3 separate regions of the Homo sapiens genome follow, and regions 1 and 3 are each linked to region 2. Evidence: promoter capture Hi-C in human tissues and cell types (Jung and others, 2019). All regions are on one chromosome and are shown on one strand. Each heading gives the region's core, a stretch centred on a gene start or on the middle of the fragment in contact. The rest is flanking DNA. Distances are from core to core; before and after follow the strand shown.

Region 1 (3,186 bases), core at 599-3,098, 270 kb before region 2:
GTTGCAAGGAAGGCAAGGAAATGTAGTCTTTATTTTGACAGCCACATGTTTGGTTAAAAATTCTGTTACTCTTGGCTGGGTGCAGAGGCTCACGCCTGTAATCCCAGCACTTTGGGAGGCTGAGGCAAGCGGATCACTTGAGGTCAGGAGTTTGAGAACAGGCTGGCCAACATGGTGAAACCCCATGTCTACTAAAAATACAAAAATTACCTGGGTGTGGTGGCGCACGCCTCTAATCCCAGCTACTCGGGAGGCCGAGGCAGGAGAATGGCTTGAACCTGGGAGGCAGAGGTTGCAGTGAACCAAGATTGTGCCACTGCACTCCAACCTGGGCCACAGAGTGCGACTCTGTCTTAAAAAGAAAAAACAAAAAACGATTACTCTGAAAGAAGGGGAAAATGGATATTATGGGCAACTAGTATACTGTGTTCAAACACTCACAAACTGCCCCAGGAGAGTAATTGTCTTGTTTAGCTGATCCTTCTGGGAATGCATTTTGGTGTCCCTGCAAATTGCCTTCTCCCAAATTTCTGCAGACCAATCACAGCGTCTGTGAAAGCCATTTACCATTGCTGAGGGAAAAGGTTGTAGAAAATGCTAAAAAAAAGAAAAAATCACAAGAGAATTATCACCATTGTATAGTTATCTGTTGATGTGTAGCAAACCATTCCAAAAGTTCATGGTTTAAAATAGTAACAATTTTTGTTCGTCGGGAATGTAGTGAGTTAGAAAGGTCTTCTGCCAGTCTCATTGGGATCCCTCATGTGACTGCATTCAGCTGGTGGCTAGTTGAGACTGAAAGATCCAAGATGGCCATTTTAACAGATCTGGGGCCTTAGCTGGATTGACTGGAAGTCTGGGGCACTTCTCTTATACTTGGCCTCATTCTCTTTCTAAGTGGTCTCTAGACCAAGCTTCCTTATATCTTGGCGTCTGGCTCTCGAGAGAATGGAGGTGTGGCAGTGGCATAGCAAACTTACACAGAAATCTTTTGGTCAAGGCAAGTCATGACACCAGCCCAGAGACATGGGGAGAGGGGAAATAGACTCTACCTCTTGATGGGAGGAGTGACAAAAAATGTGTGGCCATCTTCAATCCACTGCAGTCCACTATTTTCCTGATACAAAATATGTGATGTCTATGTGTTCCTAGAAGTCTGCCTAGTTGATTCTTAGCTCACTTGTGTTTTAGAAGCTCCATTCTTGATTGCTCAAAGGAACTCACAGGAGGAAAATTATTCTCTAGGCTGCAAATACTGATGATCTGAGTATTTTCATTCTAAAGAGCTGATAAAATTAAGCTAAGAGTCAGATTCCCATGTCTACCGAGAAGACAGGTATCTATGGATATCAGAGATATCTCTTGATGGCTTGTGATTTTGAGCATCTTTCCATATGTTATTGGATATCTTATGTAAAAAGTCTTTTTTTTTCTTAATGATTAGTTTTTTATTCTGGATATGAGTTCTTTGTTGGATATGTATTACAATGATCTCTTGCCAGTTTGCTTGACTTTTCACTTAAGATTAAATTAAAAAAAAATTTGAGCTGGTCTCAGTGGTGCCCACATGTAGTCTCAGCTACTCAGGAGGTTGAGGTAGGAGGATACCTTGAGCCCAGGAGTTCTGGGCTGTGTTGTGCTATGCTGATTGGGTGTCTGCAACGCCACCCACAGTGGTGATCCAGTGTCAGCACTAAGTTCAGCATCAATATGGTGACCTATCAGGAGTGGAGGATCACTAGGTTGTCTAAGGAGGGTGAACTGGTCCAGGTCAAAAACAGAGCAGATCAAAACTCCTGTCCTGATGGGTAGTGAGATCTCTGAATAGCCACTACACTCTAGCCTGGACAATATAGTAAGACCCATATGGAAAAAAAATTTCTTTTGAAATAATTTCATGCTTAAAAAAACTCACAGTTGCAAAAATAGTTTTAAAAATTCCTATTTAACCTCTGCTTGGATCCCCTAAGTGTTAAAATCTTTATAACTATAATACAATGATCAAAATCAGGAAATAAACATTGATTTACTAATTGTCCCTCTAATGTCCTTTTTTTGGTCCAAGATTCAATCCATAATTGTATGTTGCATTTAATTGTTTTTTGTTTTTTTTTTGAGATAGAGTCTCGCTCTGTCATCCAGGCTGGAGTACCTTGGCCTGATCATAGCTCACTGCAGCCTCAAATTCCTGGGCTCAAGTGATGCTTCCACCTCAGCCACCTGAATAGCTGGGACTGCAGGCACATTTTATTATGTCAGGCTAATTTTTAACTTTTTTTTTTTTTTTTTTTTTTGTAGAGATGGGTTCTCACTATGTTGCCCAGGCTGGTCTCAAACTCCTGGCCTCAAGTGATCCTCCCACCTCGTCCTTCCAAGTGCTGGGATTATATGCATGAGCCACTGTGCCCAGCTGCATTTAAGTGTTTTGTTTCCTTAGTTTCCTTTAACCTGGAACACATTCTCAGTCTCTTTTTGTGTTTGATATCCTTGACACTTTTGAAGAGTACTGGCCAGTTATTATGTACAGCTCTCATTTGGGGTTTGTCTGATGTTTCCTCATAATTAATTTCAAGTTATGTACTTTTGAGCACATAAGTGACATATGCTTTTCAATACAGTGTATTAGAAAGCACATGATGTTGATTTGTCCATTTTTGGTGATATTAACTTTGATTGCTCGTTGGTATCTGACAGATTTCTTCACTGAAAGGGTTATTTTTCCCATTGCAATTAATAAGCATCTTGTAGGGGGTCCTTTGAAATTTTGTACATATATTGTTTCTCATACTTTTGCCCCCTAATTTTGGCATGTGTTATTGATTCTTACTGAAACAGTTATTATTGTGGTGTTTGCCAAATGGTGATTAAAAAATATCCCTTATTTCTTCTACATTTAGAAGAAACAATTTGTAGAAGGAACAATGGAACTTCTATTGTGTAAAATCCTATTGTACAAAAGAGTTTCCCATTTATTCATGTATTTGATTATAATTTATTTATATCAGTATAGATTCTTAATTTATTCTTTTGGTTATAATCCATTACTGTTGTTATTTTGTCACTCTAATTGCCCATATTTGGTGATTAGGAGCCTTTATGTTCACTTATATTCCTTTTGACATGTCCTCTTTATTTTTTGAGTGCTTTCTACTTTCTGACACCACAGTATCTTTCAGTTATATACAA
Region 2 (3,309 bases), core at 215-2,714:
GATCTTTGTACAATTAAGAGCAAAGTAACCATACAATGTTTCTGATCCTGTCAGCATAGGCGGTTAAGTGCTTTGGAACTGGGATGTAAACTCAGTATCTCACAAATGGATTACCTATTAAGTTAGGACACACAAAATCTGGTTAAAGTGCTTGGACTTCACAACCTCATCCACCAGCACATCACATATCACACAAAATATAATAATCACAGTAATGGGAAAACTGAATCTTGAGCCAGATTTCTAAAAAACAGGTATTGTGGACAGTGTTTCCACCTCTTGAATTTAACTTCTTTCTTGGCAACTATACTTGAAGGTAACAGGGAGAGATGTCTCTTAGTTGGCAAAACACACACTTAAAACCTGAGCATTTTCCCCCAGGATGACAGCAAGATACCAAGGATGCCAAAGAAGGAAGGAGTGTTAACCTAATCCAGTAAGAGAAACAAGATTTTAAAATACAACAAAAATGTTCCAATGGGGGAAAAAAGGTAGTTCACCGGTTCACGACTTTAAAAAACGTTGGCAGTGGTTGATGGGCTTATTTCAGGAGATATCTGACTTGGTACCAAGAGGATAAAGAGGCCGGGAATAATACGTTTGTGCAGCAAAATGGTTATGTGACCGATTTTTTAAAACACAGAATTCTGCCCCACTGAATACATACACATACCACAAGTAAAATGAAATATACTTTTAAGTGCCCGTTTTGGTGCCACTGGCCAAAATTAAAACTCTCCTTCCGTATGTGAGGTGACTTGAGATTTCTTTTTTGCTTTAAATGCCTGCCTTCAGGGTACGTGAAAGTGGGAGACCGGTTGGAAAACTGGGGCTAAGGGGGCTGGGAGCGAGATGGCTGTGACTGAATCAGGAAGCTGGATGTGAGAGAGAAAAATCCTCCTCCAGCCTCGGAGGGGGTGTCTCCCCTAATACCAGCTCCCTCCCCCCGGGCTCGTGGGGCGGGTCTGGTTTGCTCAGTAGCGGCAGCGGCCGCAGCAGCAGCCCCGGGGCTGAGCAGCGGTGGCCTCCTGGCAGCGCAGGGAAGCGGCGGCTCCAAGAGCGCGAGGCCCTGGGGAGATCCGGCCAAGACTGCTGCCGGGATGGAGGAAGCGTCCAGTGGAGCAGGAGTCACCGGGGACGAATTTCCTCCCCAGCTCAGCTCCCCTACAGCTTGGCTAGGCCTGCTCCGAGCGCCTGCAAGGTGGAGGAGGCCTGCGCCTCGGGCCTGGCAGCGGCAGCCGGCGAGGGAGGCGGGCACAGCGGGGTAACCGGCGAGCCGTAGCCGCTCTCGAAAACCTACGCTGCCACGGCCGCTCATTGTCTCTCCCCTTCCACCCGGGGGCAAACAGGAAGCGCGCCGCCTGGCAGACCGACGGACAGGCGCCTGGACCAATGAGCACAGCCGACAAAGAGCACGGCGGCGAATGAGAGCCAAGAAGAGGGGCGGGAGTTCCGGGCGGGCTGTCACCCTCTTCCCCCCTTTTGGGCTGGAGGCTCCACCTTTTGTGTTTCCCGCACAGTCAATCAAAATAGGAAAAAAAAATCCCCGGACCGCTCCGGCCGTGTCCGCCGCCGCTTCCCGCATCCTCTCCCGCCGCCGCCGCCTTCGCTCCTCACCATGTGTAAGGCGGCGGGGAGCCCCGCCTGAGGTGCCCTAAACACACTATGACCGGTACGTAAAGCCGAGAGAGCAACCCTTGCTGCTGCCGCCGCCGCCGCTGCCGCCGACCACAGCCAGCCCGGGGCCGCTGCCGCCGGTCTCGGCCCCGTGTGTGCGACCGAGTGTCTGTGAGAGGCAGAAAGCTGCACTCCCCTGCGCCTCCCTCCCCTCCCCGCCAGCCACCGTCCACCCCCGAAGCCCCAGCAACGCCGTCTCCCCGCCAGGCCCCGGGGCGGGCGGCCCGGTCCGCCGGGAGCGCATCCCCCTGTGTGCGGGCGCGGGCGGGCGTGTGTGAGTGACTGACGGTGCGAGAGGAGCGAGCGCGAGTGAGAGCGAGCGGCGCGAAGGGAAAGGGGAGGAGAGGAGAGGGGGCAGGGGCAGCGCGGGGAGGAGGAGGAGGAGGGAAAGAGGAGGAGGAGGAGGGTTACAGGCAGCGGCGGGCGGGGGCAGCAGCAGGAGGGGAGGAGGGAGCCGCCGCCGCCGCCGCCGCCGGGGGGCGGGTGGGGGAGGGGAAGGGGCCTGGGTCCGGGCTTTGGGAGTAATTTCGCTTCGGCCCGCGGGCCCCCTCCCTCTCCGCCACCCGCCTTCCTCCCCACCCCCACCCCCCCGCGCTGTGCCTGCAGCTCCCGAAAAGCCCGTGAAACAAGAGGAAATGGCTGCCTTGGACGTGGATAGCGGCGGCGGCGGTGGCGGCGGCGGCGGCCACGGCGAGTATCTGCAGCAGCAGCAACAGCACGGAAACGGTGCGGTGGCGGCGGCAGCGGCGGCCCAGGTGAGGAGCGGCTGAACCCCGGCCCGGCTCCCCCCTCGCGCCGCTTTCTCCTCCCCTCGCCTCTCCCCTCCCTCCTCGCCTCACCCCTCCCTCCTCGTCTCTCCCCTCCCCTCCACTCCCCTCCCCCCGCCCCGGGAGCTGCCCGCCCGAGGCGCCAACGCTCCGACCCCGCCCGCGCCGCCCCGCCTCGCCCGCCTGCCGCCTTTTTGTGCGCGTGTGAGTGTGGGCCCCAGCGTGCCCTCCCGGGGGTGGGTTCCGGGCGGAAGGCGGAGGCCCGGCGCGCAGCCCGCCGCCCGCCTGCCCGCGGACCGGGGAGCCGGGGTGCTTGGAGCGGGGGACGCCAGGCGTGGGCTGGCGGCGGGACCAGGAGGAGGAGGAGGAGGAGGAGGAGAGCGCGGGCTGGCGCTTGCCCGGGCGCAGTCGGCGGGGACCGAGTCGTACTTCCTGTGCGAAAGGCGGCCCGACCCTAACCGCCACCCCCTCCCCCTGTCTCCCTCTCTGAACCCGCCCATTGGGGGTAGGACACTCAGCCGTCACCGCTCGCTCTGCTGGCCGCTACCTGCAGCAAGATAGGGCCGCCATCGCCGGGCGACGACGAGGAGGAGGCGGCCGCCGCAGCCGGGGCCCCCGCCGCCGCCGGAGCGGTAAGTCCCGCGCGCGGCCCGCCCCCGCCGAGGCCGGGCGCCCGCCATCCCGGACCCGTGGCGCGCCTGCCCAAAAGGCCTCCCCGGCGCCCGCGCTTCCCCCGACCCGCACGGGCCGCTGGGCTCCAGGGCGCCCTTTCCTGCTCTTTCGCATCCCGGTTTGGATCTGAAGCCAGCCCAGGCTTTCTCGAAATTGTCACTGCAGCACCTCGCGCAAAATCTTCACAAAATGA
Region 3 (3,408 bases), core at 116-2,615, 360 kb before region 2:
AGCCATTAGATTGATCAATGTACCTTAAACAATGCGAATGAATTATATGACTGATTTATATGGGGAAGAAAAAGAAAGCAGTGGGGGAGGACGATTTCATCTCCTTTACATCCACACGCTGTTCTGGAGAAGAACCGGGCCCAGCCTCTAGTTCGTCATAGCTTAGAACCACCCGAGCGATTTATCTAGAAAACTTTTCAAGCAAAGACAAGGTCCTCTCGGCTTGTCCGGTGGGTGGCGAGGTGCACGTTTTCTGCCCCTCTCTCCGCTTCCTAAGAAAGAGCTTAGAAAGACCAAGGCCCCGAGGGGCGGCGGAAGGTCACAGCGACGCCACTCCGCTAGCCAAGGACACCACCCGGAGCGGGCCCAGCTGCCTCCTTCCCTAGAGTCTGTCCCCAGAGAGGGGGAGGACGACTTACATATTTGTTTAACGGAGTGTTGGAGAGCTGCGTGGCCTCCTAATTACGTCAAGAACACAGAACCATCAGCCCTTGAAGTTTCCAGCGAGACTTCGGAAGGAGCGGCGACCCGGCTCCAGGCGCGAGATGACGCTGGGGGTGGGGAGGGAGGGTACTCCGTGGAACGGAACTCCAAGCTAGGGCTGGCGGTTCCAGCTAATCTATCTGGCGAAGACAAAATTACAACAGAGCTGGAGCGATCAAAGCAGGCCCCCGCCCCCACCCCCACCCCCGCCCGCCCGCCTTCCCTGCCCAAAGTCTGTTTGTAGTTGTCTCCTCGGCTGCAGACACACTCGTCCATCTTCTCACGACAAGGAAATTCCTGCCAGTTTTTCCAGAGCCTGCAAGGAGAAGACAAACGCACTTCACCCGTCCCAGAGGAGGAGGATTCCCTTTGTTTAACCTCCTCCTCCCACAGTCGGCCTTCAGCTCTGAAATGGGGGAGGGGGACAGGGGATGGAAAGACCCTGGGCGGGGAAGGGCGGTTATAACAGAACCCCGGGTCCAACTCTGCCTTGCTGGTCCCTCCTCTTCCTCCTCCCTCTTCTCTTTCCAAGCTTCTCCCTCCCTCCCTCTCTCCCTCCCTCTCTCCCTCCTTCCGATCTTCTAGATCCTCTTCCCACCCAAGTCCTCTCCTGGGCTCGCGCGCCCAGAGCCTGGGCAGGCGCTGTTTATTTCCCGGCCTTCGTGGTTTGGCGGGAAAGGGCTTCGTCCTGGCTTGTTCTTGAGTGTCTGGGACAAATCCTTTTGTTTGTGTCTAAATGTGGAATGAGAAGCCTTCCAGGTTGATAATGGGGCTCAGACAGAAGAGGGAAAGAGCAGAGAAGCAACACGCATGTGTCTTTTGCAGCCAGTATGCGATGTTAGTCCAGGGTTTGGAACCCCTTCCAGGTGGATCACGGTTTCACACACACACCCAACTGTGCTCATCTGTCTTTTATTACCCCATGTTCCACTCTCCTGGGTTCTTTTCTTAGTTCCTTTCAGCCCTCTCCTTCCTAGAACCTCTTCTCAGAACCCTACAGTTCAGTGAGAGGGTGAGAAAAAAAGATACATCCTAAAACTCCCCTCGAGGAACGAGGCACCCCCGTGACATATCCGGAAACAGGCCAGCCCTGGGCCGACACGTCCATCCTTTCTTGATTTCGGCCACTGTAGAGCCCAACTCTGACAGGCTGGACTTTCCTGTCACACCTACCGATGTCAAACCCACGCCCTTCCAGAGTCCAGATGGATACCCTCCGCCCTGACCCGCTTCTTGGAACATTGACTGAAGGGTATATACATAGGGGTAGAGGAAGGCTCCGTGCACTTTAGACACGTGCGCCTCCCCCTCGCCCTGCTGCCACATGCAGAATGTACACTGATGACAAACAGACACACTTACCAGGGCACATGCCAGCGGCGTCCATCCTCCTTCCCGGCCAGGCATCAGCAAGCGAGACGGCCTTGAGGCAGGTGCCATCGCCACAGGGAGAGTGGCTCCGAGCTCCCGATGTCTCCCTGGGAGTCGAGGCATTCAGGTACCCCAAAGCCAGTTTCGAGCCTCCCGGGCGGGGTGGCCGAAGACCTTGACGAGGCTGGGCGTCCCCCTCCGCCTCCCGCTGTGCTTCCGCGCTGCTTCCTGCTCTGCACTACCTCCGCCGCCGCAACTGCCCAGCGCCCCTCTCTGAGAAGCCCTCTGCCTGCTGCACGCAGCCCATAGGTTCCGCTACATCTGGGATGCATTGCCCCTTAATTGTCAATCCCATTATTGTGATCAAGTGAACGTTGCTAATCTCTACATTTATTGTTTAGGTAAATAGAGGCTGCATTTAATCAATATGCAGGGCCCCAGCCCTCGCAGCGCCAAGTAACTTAAGTCAACGGTGAAGATTTCAGTGTGTGCATAATTACAGAGCTCGCGGAATCATCGGTCCAGCTCAATTCCACGTCTCTTCGCCGACCTGGGGGAGGCGGAGGAGGGAATGGGAGGAATCTCCATCCTCCAAGGGGTCGAGGGCCAGCTCCTTCAGGGCAAGTAAATGACTTCGTGGAGGTGACACCGCGCGCCTGGCCCGCGCCCTCGGCGGAGCGCCCTGTGAGCGCGGGGGCCTGAGGCGGGACTGGGGACTGCCCCCAACTTCCGAGCGGCAGAATCTGGCGCTTGGCGCCCCGACTCTACAGCTTCTGGACCTCTCCCCTCCCAAATTTGCCTCAGGAAGGAGGGTGGTTCCGCGTTCGGCAGGTCCCCGGCAGGCGGGAAAGCGGGGGCGGGGCTCTGGAGGTGGGTTGCCCCAAGTTCGCGACACCCTGCCCCAGCACGCAGGCTCCCTCCTCTCCTCCGCAGCTGCGGGGAGCAGCAGACTTCCTTGCCCGCGGGGAACTCCCAAGAATCCCACGATTGGGCGCGCAGAGCGCGGGTTATTTGCGCTTCTTCTTAAATAGCTATTGTTTCCTAATTTAAGAGGACCTTCGCCGGGCTAGAACGTCAGGGATTCGCAGCAGGGGGTGGGCGGGTCTGGGGAGATGGGCGGTTCGCGCCGGCGAGGGGTGGTATCAGCTCCTTACAGTAGCTTGGCTCCCGGAGTGGTGTCAGAGTGAGGGCCTCTTGGTCTCGGCGGGGAAAGGGTTAGCTGAGAATCTTTCGGGGGGCGGCGGAAAGAACCCGACCCCCGCGACACCCTGGAGTGGGGCCCAAGAAGCTGATCCTCAAGTTTGAGGCGCCAACACTTCTCTTTCGGCAACTCTGTTGTCGCGAGTTTCTCTTTCTTCTGGTTCCTCTTTCTCTGCTCCATTCCCGGACAAGTCGGACGTAAACAACCAATAACTTCAGTTGTAACCAGACACCCCCCTTGCATGGAATTGTCCGGCTTTATGTAAGCAGGATTCTAAGGTCAAATCATTTGACAGTTTAGGGTGCCATTGCAACCTCCCAACTAAATTACAGCTGAAGTTTGAATATAAGGGC

Evidence for each region. The method cuts DNA at HindIII sites, captures the fragments that hold promoters and counts their contacts. A contact is called where the count stands out against the background at its distance.
Region 1: a contact is called between a fragment that was not itself captured here and the fragment with the promoter of SP3 in region 2, in 1 of the 25 tissues and cell types used here (H1 embryonic stem cells).
Region 3: a contact is called between a fragment that was not itself captured here and the fragment with the promoter of SP3 in region 2, in 1 of the 25 tissues and cell types used here (pancreas).

Annotation. Positions count from the first base shown.
Region 1 is chr2:174,238,823-174,242,008 of GRCh38, reverse strand. The region is part of intron 2 of OLA1 (Obg like ATPase 1); the gene reads left to right. It also overlaps the pseudogene RN7SL65P. Among named protein-coding and RNA genes, the nearest start is that of OLA1, 8.1 kb to the left of the region's middle. The HindIII fragment of the contact is 7,216 bases long and covers 1-3,186 here.
Region 2 is chr2:173,963,528-173,966,836 of GRCh38, reverse strand. SP3 (Sp3 transcription factor) reads left to right here and starts at 1,464. Exons shown (of 7, transcript NM_003111.5): 1 at 1,464-1,672; 2 at 2,284-2,432; 3 at 2,954-3,076. The coding sequence starts at 1,666. RefSeq lists silencers at 1,217-1,286, 1,787-2,066, 2,397-2,886, 3,017-3,266 and enhancers at 2,127-2,949, 2,950-3,309. The HindIII fragment of the contact is 28,349 bases long and covers 1-3,309 here.
Region 3 is chr2:174,325,848-174,329,255 of GRCh38, reverse strand. It overlaps LINC01305 (long intergenic non-protein coding RNA 1305), which reads right to left and starts at 3,229. Exons shown (of 3, transcript NR_038897.1): 1 at 1,846-3,229; 2 at 420-799. RefSeq lists enhancers at 1-671, 2,721-2,840, 2,308-3,125. The HindIII fragment of the contact is 3,092 bases long and covers 1-2,911 here.